Linked DNA regions of Homo sapiens: region 1 is linked to region 2. Evidence: promoter capture Hi-C in 16 types of primary human blood cells and fetal thymus (Javierre and others, 2016). All regions are on one chromosome and are shown on one strand. Each heading gives the region's core, a stretch centred on a gene start or on the middle of the fragment in contact. The rest is flanking DNA. Distances are from core to core; before and after follow the strand shown.

What was found. The method cuts DNA at HindIII sites, captures the fragments that hold promoters and counts their contacts. A CHiCAGO score of 5 or more calls a contact.
Region 1: a contact is called between a fragment that was not itself captured here and the fragment with the promoter of CA12 in region 2, in 2 of 17 cell types (M2 macrophages and M1 macrophages). The highest score is 5.4, in M2 macrophages.

The regions. Positions count from the first base shown.
Region 1 is chr15:63,171,608-63,177,251 of GRCh38, reverse strand. No RefSeq gene overlaps it. Among named protein-coding and RNA genes, the nearest start is that of RAB8B, 15 kb to the left of the region's middle. The HindIII fragment of the contact is 1,949 bases long and covers 1,897-3,845 here.
Region 2 is chr15:63,377,300-63,383,141 of GRCh38, reverse strand. It overlaps CA12 (carbonic anhydrase 12), which reads left to right and starts at 1,296. Exons shown (of 11, transcript NM_001218.5): 1 at 1,296-1,506. The coding sequence starts at 1,422. RefSeq lists enhancers at 572-1,091, 1,092-1,612. The HindIII fragment of the contact is 7,810 bases long and covers 1-4,736 here.

The DNA of each region.
Region 1 (5,644 bases), core at 1,622-4,121, 210 kb after region 2:
TATAGTTTCATTCAACAAAAGCTCTTTTAGCACCTACAATATATAAAGCAACTTACTAGATACCATAAGAGGAATAAAGATGAACTGACACAGACCACTCCGTAAGAAGCACATGGCCTTCATGGGAGGTGGGACCCACACTTAAATAGTTAAAATACTAGGTAGAATTATGATATACTGGTAATGTACTGTGGTGCTAGTTTATAGTTCTTTTTTTTTTTTTTTGACAGAGTCTCACTCTGTCGCCCAGGCTGGAGTGCAGTGGTGCAATCTCCGCTCACTCCAACTTCTGCCTCCCAGGTTCAAGCAATTCTCCTGCCTCAACCTCCCAAGTAGCTGGGATTACAGGAGCGCGCCACCACGCCTGGCTAATTTTTTTATTATTTTGTGGAAATGGGGTTTCACCATGTTGACCAGGCTGGTCTTGAACTCCTGACCTCAAGTGATCCACCCGTCTCGGCCTCCCAAAGTGCTGGGATTACAGGCATAAACCACTGCGCGCAGCCTTATAGTTATTTCAAAACTAGTTTATATTTATTTAGACACTGGTAGTCTATAATTAAGTGGATTACCCAGTGTATTAGAACACCTAATTCCCTAACTATTGTTGATACATGGAAGGTTACCACACTCAGTATCAATGACATTGGGTTTTACTAGCAATCAACAGCATCACCTAAGAGCAATGCTCTTGGGTGAACCATCCCAGCAAGGTCTTGCTGACCAGCGTTGAGTCACCTACTTTAGACCCACAATTCACCTTAAATGGATGAGCAAGGAGGATGAATCAAGATGACATGGGAACCTGAACTGCATTGAGCGAGGTTTCAGGGATGCCTTCGGGAAGCTGGATGCTTGTACAGGCTGCAATATAGACCAAGTTGCCAAGTGACAACCAAAAATGGGATTAGTCAGGGAATAAAAATTGTCCCTAGCTTTCCAGAATGGCTCTATCTGAACAGATAGTGGATCTGTTGGGGAGAAGGTGAAGGGGGTAGGAAAAGAACCTGCCTGTTTACACCCCAGAAGTGACCACCACCTACTAGTCTGAACCAACTTTTAAATTCTGATTTGGGCTCTGTTTCTACCTCCATATGAAAAGCGAAAAAATTTAAAGGAAGCCGGGTGTGGTGGCTCATGCCTGTAATCCCAGCACTTTGGGAGGCCAAGGCTCTTGGATCACCTGAGGTCAGGAGTTCGTGACTAGCCTGGCCAACCTGTCTCTATTAAAAATACAAAAATTAGCTGGGCATGGGCGCCTGTAATCCCAGCTACTTGGGAGGCTAAGGCAGGAGAATCACTTGAACCCCCTGGGAGGCGGAGGTTGCGGTGAGCCAAGATCGTGCCATTGCACTCCAGCCTGGGCGACAGAGCGAGACTCCGTCTCAAAAACAGAATAAAACAAAACAAAAACTTTAAGGAAATTAAATTATATAACCAACCTCCAAAGATCATTAAGGAATGTATCCTTCATATATTATGAACAGTATTGTTGGAGAAAGTTGAACTAACCCTCGCCTGAGCCGAGAATCCAGAATTCAATGCTGTTAACGTTTGAACACACAACAACGAATTTGCATCCAAATAAACATTGTACACATTTCCTTACATCTTTTGCCTTGAGAATTTGGTGATGAAAATACTTTTTACATGTGGACATATTTCCCTTAATATTAAATGTTGTAAATTATTATGCAAAACTGAGATATGGGGGAACAATAAGGAAGCTCATAATTTTAGCTTCTTTGCATCTCAAAGCCAGGACTGTGATCATGACCCTGATTCTGAAGGAAATGATGTGGACAGAAGCTGTTTTGTCTGACAGCTCCTCACAACCTTGACTGACCCAAGCAACCCCCACAAAAAGCAATGCCCAGCAGTCCAGGGAATCAAGCTTCTCTTCCACCCCCTTGGTCCATTCTGGGGAGGCAGCAGCAGTGGCACTGACCTTAGGATCATCCTCTAGAGTTTTGATGTCTGGTTTTGTATGGGAGTGCAACCTTAGCAGTAAAATATTTACTTATGGAGCTCATTCATTTGTTCTCTGGCCCTTATACCTACTGGAGATAATGCCTACTGCCCAGAATAAGTAAGTTATTTATTGGAGGTAGCAGATAAAATATTGAAACAGCTCATGCCTTTGTGTTGTATAGTTGAGGTAGAAATAATGGTACCCAGATTTGTGCAGACTCTATTAACTCACATCTTTGGCTTATTTATTATTTGGCCAGATATGATTTGCTCTTAGGTCTTGGCAAGAGGGGCCTCTTCCCCTGGGGCCCACTGTGTAGAGAGCCCTATGCTACCCTTGTTCTCTTCTGGTCAGTCCTCTCCACTGGGCAAGGAGTTTACAGGCTAAGTGGATTTACTCACCCAGAGCCATGCCATCTTTTTAGGCTACATTCCAGGTACCCAGAACTCAGGATTCCCTGCCAATGGCCCTGCTTCCAGGATTGGTATGGGCCTCTTCTCCTGATCGATCTTTCTTTCTTTCTTTTTCTTCTTTTTTTATTTTTTGGAGACGGAGTCTCGCTCTGTCACCCAGGCTGGAGTACAGTGGTGTGATCTCAGCTCACTGCAACCTCCACCTCCGGGGTTCAAGCAATTCTCCTGCCTCAACCTCCCAAGTAGCTTGGATTACAGGCACACATGGCCACGCCCGGCTAATTTTTTGTATTTTAATAGAGACAGGGTTTCACCGTGTTGCCCAGGCTGGTCTTGAACTCCTGAGCTGAGGCAATCCACTCATCTCGGCCTCCCGAAGTGCTAGGATTACAGGCATGAGCCACCGTGCTCGGCCTTTTTTATTTATTTTTTATTTGAAACTGAATCTTGCTCTGTTGCTCAGGCTGGAGTGCAGTGGCGCAATCTCAGCTCACTGCAAGCTCCACCTCCAGGGTTCAAGTGATTCTCCTGCCTCAGCCTCTCGAGTAGTTGGGATTATAGGCACCTACTACCATGCCCAGCTAATTTTTGTATTTTTAGTAAAGACGGGTTTTCACCATGTTGGCCAGGCTGGTCTCAAACTCCTGACCTCAAGTGAGCCTCCCAAAGTACTGGGACTACAGGTGTGAGCCACTGCACCCAGCCCTGATCTATCCTTCTGAGGGTGGACTGTACAATTGGGCCATAGCCCCAAGTGGCCACCAAAAGGGGGTGATGATATGGCCAGCGCTTGGACATATGGGCTGGAATCCACATCGTGTGTGTGTGAGGCCCTTCATGATGTGGGCCCAATTTGAGGGGTGAAGGAAGGGCACTGTTCTGGGCCAGGGCTGCTCTCCTGGGCCACCACGTTTTGGTATGGACCTCTAAGGAGCTGAAATATTCTAAATTCAAACCAATTATCTGCATCATTGTAAAGGTATATCTGTCAAGGTAGGAAACCCAAGTTTGTTAGCTTTGGCTAGAATTTTTAAATATTTAGACATATGATATGTTGGTTTTCATTTTCATTCTTGCTCCATGCCCCACAAAATGGGGCCTGTCCTTGGAATGTGTTTGATTTTGAGTGTGTTTAAAATTCTAATATAAAGGCTCTGGTAAGTGGTTGGAGTGTGGGTAATGGGTGGGCCACTTTGCCACCAGGTCAAACAGAGCATTGCTGCCAACCAGCGCTCCAACTACGTTCCAACATCCTTCTGCTCCCTGACCCAACAAGGGAAACTGTGTGTGTGTGTGTGTGTGTATGTGTGTGTGCGTGTGCGCATGTGTGTGTGTGTGCTTGCGCGCGCATGTGTGTAATATCCACTGAGAATCAGGAAAACATGACCTGGCTGTGCTCACATCATCCAAACCTCACACTGATGTTCTGTTCTAGATCGCCACGGCTGCTCTGCCAAGCTTCTCTTCCCACTTGGCTTCCTTTAGCTGCTCAGAGTTAGGAGCTAGGCATTTTGAAGTCCTCCTCCAGGAGAAGAAGAATGAACTAGAAAGGGAATCATGCCAGGCTTCCTTGATTGAACCCCACTTCACTTCAGCAAATCCTTAAGCCTTTCTGTCTGTTTTGTCAGCTGTAAAATAAGCAGACTAATTCAGCTCTACCTCAGAGGGCAATGAGTGGCAGGTTTAATTAATGCTGATTGTGATGGGCTTTGTAATGTAAAGTTGTATATAAATGAAAAAGAGCTTTAGAGCCATTTTATCCAAAGTCAGCTAAGTTTGGAGTGCATCCTGCTTTCCACTGCTATGGTTAAGCCTCTGAGTCCTGATCACAGACTGCTGCAGACAACAGAGGAGCAGGAAGGCACAGTTGGCTCACATTGCCTGAACAGAAAGCAGGGCTTAGCAATGGCAGTGGGGGGGCAGAGCATGTAATCAACGCACATCTCAGATGTCTGCATGGCAGGCAGCTCCAAAATTCACTGGGTCCAGCTGGTGGCAGATGATGGGCTGGTTTTTGCAATCAAAGTACAAAGAACAAGGTGTATCCGTTTATTCCTGGGACTGTTCTGGAGAGATCCTTGAGATCTAAAGTGTCACACTGAGGGAAAAGCTCTTTCCAAAGATCTCCTCTGCAGGTCTTCCTATCATCCCTGCCTGGGTTTGCTGGCTGACAGCTCATGATAGGAGTCTTTTCTTCAGGGACAGTGCTTACTGAGAACACGCTACGAGGCTCAGGCCTATCTAGGATCCATTCCTTCCTTTAAAGTCTTGTGTCTTTCCTACTTCACTTAAAGACATGGTGATATGGTTTGGATTTGTGTCCCTGCCGAAATCTCATGTGTGAATTGTAATCCCCAGTGTTGGAGGAGAGGCCTGGTGGGAGATGATTGGATCATGGGGGCGGCCTTCCCCCTTGCTGTTCTCGTGATAGTGAGTTCTTATGACATCTGGTTGTTTAAAAGTCTGTAACACCTCTCCCTTAGCTCTCTTCCCCCTGCTTCGGCCATGTAACACGTGCCAGGCCGAGAGCAGTGGCTCATGCCTGTAATCCTAGCACTTTGGAAGGCCGAGGCGGGCAGATCACGACGTCAGGAGATCGAGACCATCCTGGCTAACGCAGTGAAACCCCATCTCTACTAAAAATACAAAAAATTAGCTGGGCGTGGTGGCGCATGCCTGTAGTCCCAGCTACTTGGGAGGCTGAGGCAGGAGAATCGCTTGAACCTGGGAGGCTGAGGTTGCTGTGAGCCAAGATTGTGCCACTGCACTCCAGCCTGGGCAACAGTGGGAGACTCCATCTCAAAAACAAAAACAAACAAACAAAGACAATGTGCCTGCTTTCTCTTCGCCTTCCACCATGATTGTAAGTTTCCTGAGGCCTCCCCAGCCATGCCTCCTGTACAGCGTGTGGAATTGTGAGTCAAACCTCTTTTTATAAATAAATTACCCAGTCTCAGGTAGTTCTTTATACCAATGTGAGAACAGACTAATATACATGGCTACCTAACTTACCAGAAGTCATAGTGGTCCCACTGAGGATCACACCTGGGCACTGTTGGTTACTTTGGCTAACATGGGATTTCTGTCTCTTTCACACAATTCATCTAGCAACATTCACATGCAGCAAATCATAACTTGTATATGCTTAGTGGACATGACCACTCCTTCCCTTAATCTCTTAGAGCCCTGTGTTTCCAGGATGACAGATCATATTCAGTATTATGTTATAATTATGCTTATACAGGCTCTTCCTAATATT
Region 2 (5,842 bases), core at 47-2,546:
GGAACAGAAGACTGCAAGAAAACGTTACTTCAACCCCCCTGTGATCCCATCTGCAACCTGACCAATCAGCACTCCCCAAGTCCCAAGCCCCTATCTGCCAAATTATCTTTAAAAACTCCCAGAGGCAGGGTGCAGTGGTTCAACGCCTGTAATCCCAGCACTTTAGGTGGATCACGAGATCAAGAGATCAAGACCAGCCTGGCCAACATGGTGAAACCCCGTCTCTACTAAAAATACAAAAATTAGCTGGGTGTGGCGGCGCGTGCCTGTAATCCCAGCTACCCAGGAGGCTGAGGCAGGAGAATCGCTTGAACCCGTGAGGCAGAGGTTGCAGTGAGCCAAGACCATGCCACTGCATTTCAGCCTGGGCGACAGAGGGAGACTCCGTCTGAACAAACAAACAAACAAACAACTCCCGGAATGCTTGGGGAGACTGATTTGAGTACTGGAATCCCAGTACTTTAGGAGGCCAAGGTAGGTGGATCATTTGAGGTCAGGAGTTCCAGACCAGCCTGGCCAACATGGTGAAACCCCGTCTCTACTAAAATTAGAAAAATTAGCCGGGTGTGGTGGTGGGCGCCTGTAATCCCAGCACTTTGGGAAGCCAAGGCAGGTGAATTATCTGAGGTCGGGAGTTTAAGGCCAGCCTTAAACTGGCGAAACCCCGCCTCTACTAAAAATACAAAAATTATCTGGGCATGGTGGCATGTGCCTGTAATCCCAGCTACTCGGGAGGCTGAGGCAGGAGAATCGCTTGAACCCGGGAGGCGGAGGTTGCAGTGAGCCGAGATCACGCTATTGCACTCCGGCCTGGGCAACAGAGCGAGACTCCGTCTCAAACAAACAAACAAAGGAACGAAAACCTCCGGTCTCCGGCACGGCAAGCTCTGCGTGAATTACTTTCTCCATTGCAACTCCCCTGTCTTGATAAATGGGCTCTGTCTAAGCAGCGGGCAAGGTGAACTCGTTGGGCTGTTACAGGACCAGTGACAGACCAAGGGCATGCCACTGAAGGAATCCCTAGACGCACCCTTCTGGATGTGAGACAGGCGGATCTCACCCACGCCTGCCAGCAGCTCCTCGGAGAACTGTGTTCCTGGGTCAGCCCTGGCCCAGAGGAGCGCCGGGGACCCGCAGAGTGCTGCTGAAGTCAAGGCTACAACTCACCTAGGATCTGGGGCGCCAGCCCTCCGGTGGGCAGGGCGTTCTCCTCCCCCACCCCCTCCCCGCACGATGACATCAAGTGTTTGGCGTTGAGTTGCTCCATAAAAGCTGCCCGGGGAAGCCAGGAGAGCGAAGGGCGGACGTACTCGCCACGGCACCCAGGCTGCGCGCACGCGGTCCCGGTGTGCAGCTGGAGAGCGAGCGGCCACCGGGAGCCCCCGGCACAGCCCGCGCCCGCCCCGCAGGAGCCCGCGAAGATGCCCCGGCGCAGCCTGCACGCGGCGGCCGTGCTCCTGCTGGTGATCTTAAAGGAACAGCCTTCCAGCCCGGCCCCAGTGAACGGTAAAGTTTCCGCCTGCTTCTTTCCTAACACTCCTGAGCGCTCAGCCGCCCCTGGGCTGAAGGCTCTTCAATGATAAAGTAAAATCATTGCTGCGGGGAGCAGGGAAGGTGTAGTACCAAATAGTAGATTCTCAAGAAAGGATGCTCCGTTTTCCTTTGCTGAGGTTGGGTCGGGAAGCACGTTGCTTTCTAGTGGCGCTTGGCGCAGATTTGGTGTTAAAATGTTTGCGTGTACTCCCGGGCACCGCCAGCTCTGAAGATGTGGCTTGGGAACTTGCTAACCAGGGAGGAGATGCAAAGCCAAGATTTAAAACAGCGTTCCCCTGATCCACGTTTAGAAAGTAGAGACATGACTGTGGCATTCTGATTGGGGTAAGCACAGAGAAAGGTTTGCTGTGCCCCTGTGCAGAACCCGCAGACAGTGGTAGGCGCTTTTCTTTGGAGGAGAGGATCTTTACCATTAAGTCTTACCTACAAGTCAAAGGGATGATGCATCCCATTCTTAATCATTGTTTTTCTCCAGGAGGGCTCTACTATGCTGAATGTACGTGTGTGTGCACGTACACACACACACGCACGCGCGCACGCACACAAACCACACACACACACACACACACACACACAGCATATTTCTGATTGTAATTAGAACACTAAATCCCAAAAGGCTGGAGGCTGAGGGACTGAATGGAGGCTCCGTGGAGTGACAGGAGGAGGTGGCAGAGGGGACCTGAACTGTGGGCTCACGCCGGGCCAGTGAGCTAACACGTGTACAGCCAAGGCTGGTTCATTAATCTTTTGGAATAAGAAAGTGATTTTGGACCGAAAGTGATTTTACTGGCTGAAACTAGATTCTTCCTGGCGAGGCAGTGGTGGTGGGAAATGTGTCCTGCTCAGCAGCATAAAAGCTCTGAGCCTCCTCTCTTGGAGGTCACAGTGCCCATGGGGAAGGGCAGGGGAGCCAGGCTGTGGATAACTCTTAATTAAATTCCAGTCAACTAGCTGGCATGATGTGCTTGATATTATCTCCCTCATCTGGTCAGGGAGAAACAGAAGCGATGTAACAGAAGTTGGGAGAAAGGAGCGATGTAAAAGTGAAAATCAAGTTTTAAAACCACAAACTTTACATGTTTCCTTTTACGAAAGCTGCACTGAGACCAAAGTTTCCCTGGAAATCTCTTTAGTCCTAAGTTGCTCCAAGACCAAAGGGAGAAACAGCCATTAGTTGGCCCTCTTTCCTATAGCTGGTTGCTCCTCTCACTCTGGGGCAGCTCTGCCTCCCTTCTCTCTCTTTTCCTGCCCTTCCCTGTTCTCTTCCCTCCCTCCCCTTCCTTTCTTCCCTACTTTCCCTGCTCTTCCTCTTCCCTCTCCCTTTCCCTCCTCCTTATCTCCTCTCCCAATTCTCCAAGTTGGGACTGGGGAAGTTTGTAGTCAAAACTCCACTTTCGCCTCACTCTGAGGAAGGAGACTGCCTACCCCTGGGTAGAGCACAGCTTTTATTCTGTAAATTCTCATGCAGTTTCCTTGGGTTTTTAACTGCCTTAGAGGACAGGTCAAAGCAAAAATCACTGAGGTGTAGAATGTCAGCATGAACCCAAAGTTGGAGGTGGAGAGGAGTTAAGCTGAGTAATGGGGTCAAAGTGTGATCTGCTCTCTGCCTGGTGCATTTAAACTTCCAGCATTGGAGAATGTTCAAGAACAATGTCAGGGGCCCAGGAGGGAGCATAATAATGTGAAGTCAAGTGTCTTCTGGAGAAACCCTTGGAATTCTTAGTTGCCGTGGCTTTGGGGGGCATTTCAGTGAATTCTGCAGAGCTTGCCCTGCCCAAACCTGGTGTGGAGAGCCAGGCAGTCTTGGGCTACCCAGGAGATGGTTACTCAGGGAAAGTTCTAGCACCCAGCACAGGAAGCAGGCAGGGCCCAGGACCTCTGATATGGATCTTGGTAAATACCATTTTCTCTGGGCATTCCCTCCAGGGGAACCTCCCTGCCCAGTACCAGCTGGGTCTGCAGGTTCTAACAGGTTTCAGGCTGAGCCTCCCAGGTTTCCCAGATGGAACAGATAACCTTCCTTGGGAAGGAAACTATTCCCCTCCAGGAAGGGCCTGCTCCCTCAGGATGCCACTGAGGCCTTGGCCTGGCCTCGCTTGTGGAATCAGTTTAATCCTTTTAAGCCTTCTGTTCTTACAGCTAGAAGTGGGGAACCAGGGGGTGCAATTCCTGAATAAAGCACACTTTCGTGCGCGTGCACACACACACACGCACACATACACACACTTTTAGAGAGACTTCCTGAGGTCAGAGCTGAGCTGGGGCCCTGATCCTCACCCGATGAACCCCCTTGACTCACCATCCTCACTTACAACGCCGCTTCTCCCCAGCCCTCCAGCTCCTGAGCCCCTCCAGACACTGCCATTTATACCCAAAGTGCCGAGTCTGGAGTCCCAAGCCAGCTCACTCACAGAGAGGAGGGCAGGGAATGTTGCTCTGGAGGCTGCTGCCTTTCAACAAGTCCCCAGTCCTATGTCACCACCGCGACCTCACAGTCCCAGATGTCCACTCTATGACTTTTAGCCCTGAGCTTTCCAGAGTGTGATGCTGAGGCCTCATCTGAGGATGAGAACTCCAACAACAGGGAAAACCTTGATTAGCGAGCCCTGGGAGGGTAGCAGAAGATGTAGGGTATAAGGCTATGATTTGAATGTGAGCAGGTACAATGCAAACTGCTGGCAAGGCAGCAGTGCTCAGGCAGCAGATGTGTTTCTAGTGGCCTCCAGGATCACTGGAGTGGCCTGTGCCTCCTCAGGGGAAAAGTAAGGGTGAACTCCTCTGTTATTTGTGGAATTTTACATCCTGGGCCTCCAACTGTTCTGCCTGCTAAGAGGTAATGATCTGGCTTATTATATCTCTAAGGTCTGGGATTACATCTTAATAATGAACCTCTCACACAAAAGACTGAAGAAAATGTCCAGAAGAGGTTTTATGTCTTCTATAGCTTGGTTTGAAAGCAATGCTTTCTTTATTTTTTTTCATTGTTGTTTCAGCAAAGGGGTGAGCAGTAAACTTGGGGGTCACATACAAGTTTGGTTTCCCCGTGGTTCTGAATGTCTAATTACTAATTCAAGGGAGGTTGATCTTGGGACCCTCAACTCTCAATGCACCCATAGCTGGTTTCAGGGGAGTCTGTGGACCTTCTGAAATGACTTGTATATAAAACTTTATGTGTCTAAGCTTAGGGAAATTTTTTTTTTGAGACAGAGTCTCGCTCTGTCACCCATTCTGGAGTGCAATGGCACAATCTCAGCTCACTGCAACCTCCGCCTCCCGGGTTCAAGCAATTCTCCTGCCTCAGCCTCCCCAGCAGCTGGGATTACAGGCACCCGCCACCACGCCTGCCTAATTTTTGTATTTTTAGTAGAGACAGGGTTTCACCATGTTGGCCAGGCTGGTCTCGAACTCCTGACCTCAGGCGATCTGCCTGTCTTGGTCTTCCAAAGTGCTGGGATTACAGGGGTGAGCCACCGTACCCAGCCAGCTTAGGGAAATTTTTACTGGGAGAGGTCCATAATACTCATCGGATACTCCAGGGGGTCTGGACTCCTCCACTTAACTACTCCAAAGATTGAGGAGACTTGAAGATTCCCTAAGTTCATGGCACTAATGCTAAATTAATGGTAAATGCGGTGGGACTCCTTCCAGTGGGAATATGATATTGGTCAGGACACTTCACCTTGGTGGACTTTCATTTCCTCACCTACAAAAGGAGGAGATGGGCTATGAGTGTAAGAAAGAGATCTGAACTCTTCTCTTCCAGGGTGGGATGTCAATAAATAATGCCTAAACATAAAACAATCAAGGTAAAACAATATTAGCATGTTATATAGAGATATGGAGATAATAGCAAAAGAATCATTTTAAAAAGATCCAAAGTGGTTGCTCTAGGGAGCAGTACATGGTTAGGGAATGTCAGGGAACTGAGGTTTTTGTTACACAGCTTTGTAGAACCATCTGACTTTCTAAACCACGTGCAAGTGTAATTTGATAAAAATTACCAATTACATTGGAAAATTAAAAACAAAATTAATTACAAACACTGAGGCAAAGAAATGGAACAGAATAACAAAAAATATGAGATTAAACCGGCTTTTTTTTAAAAAAAAAGCCAAGTTCACTTTTTAACTTTTAAAAAACACAATTTCCTTAAGTAGGAAATGCCAGGAGTGATAAGTGACCAGATTGCTTGTCACTTAAGTTTTACTGCAAACTAATTCCCACGAGAGAAAGGGGATGTGAGGTGCTTCCCCACAAGGGTACGCTTTTCCATCTGTACCCTTGTGGG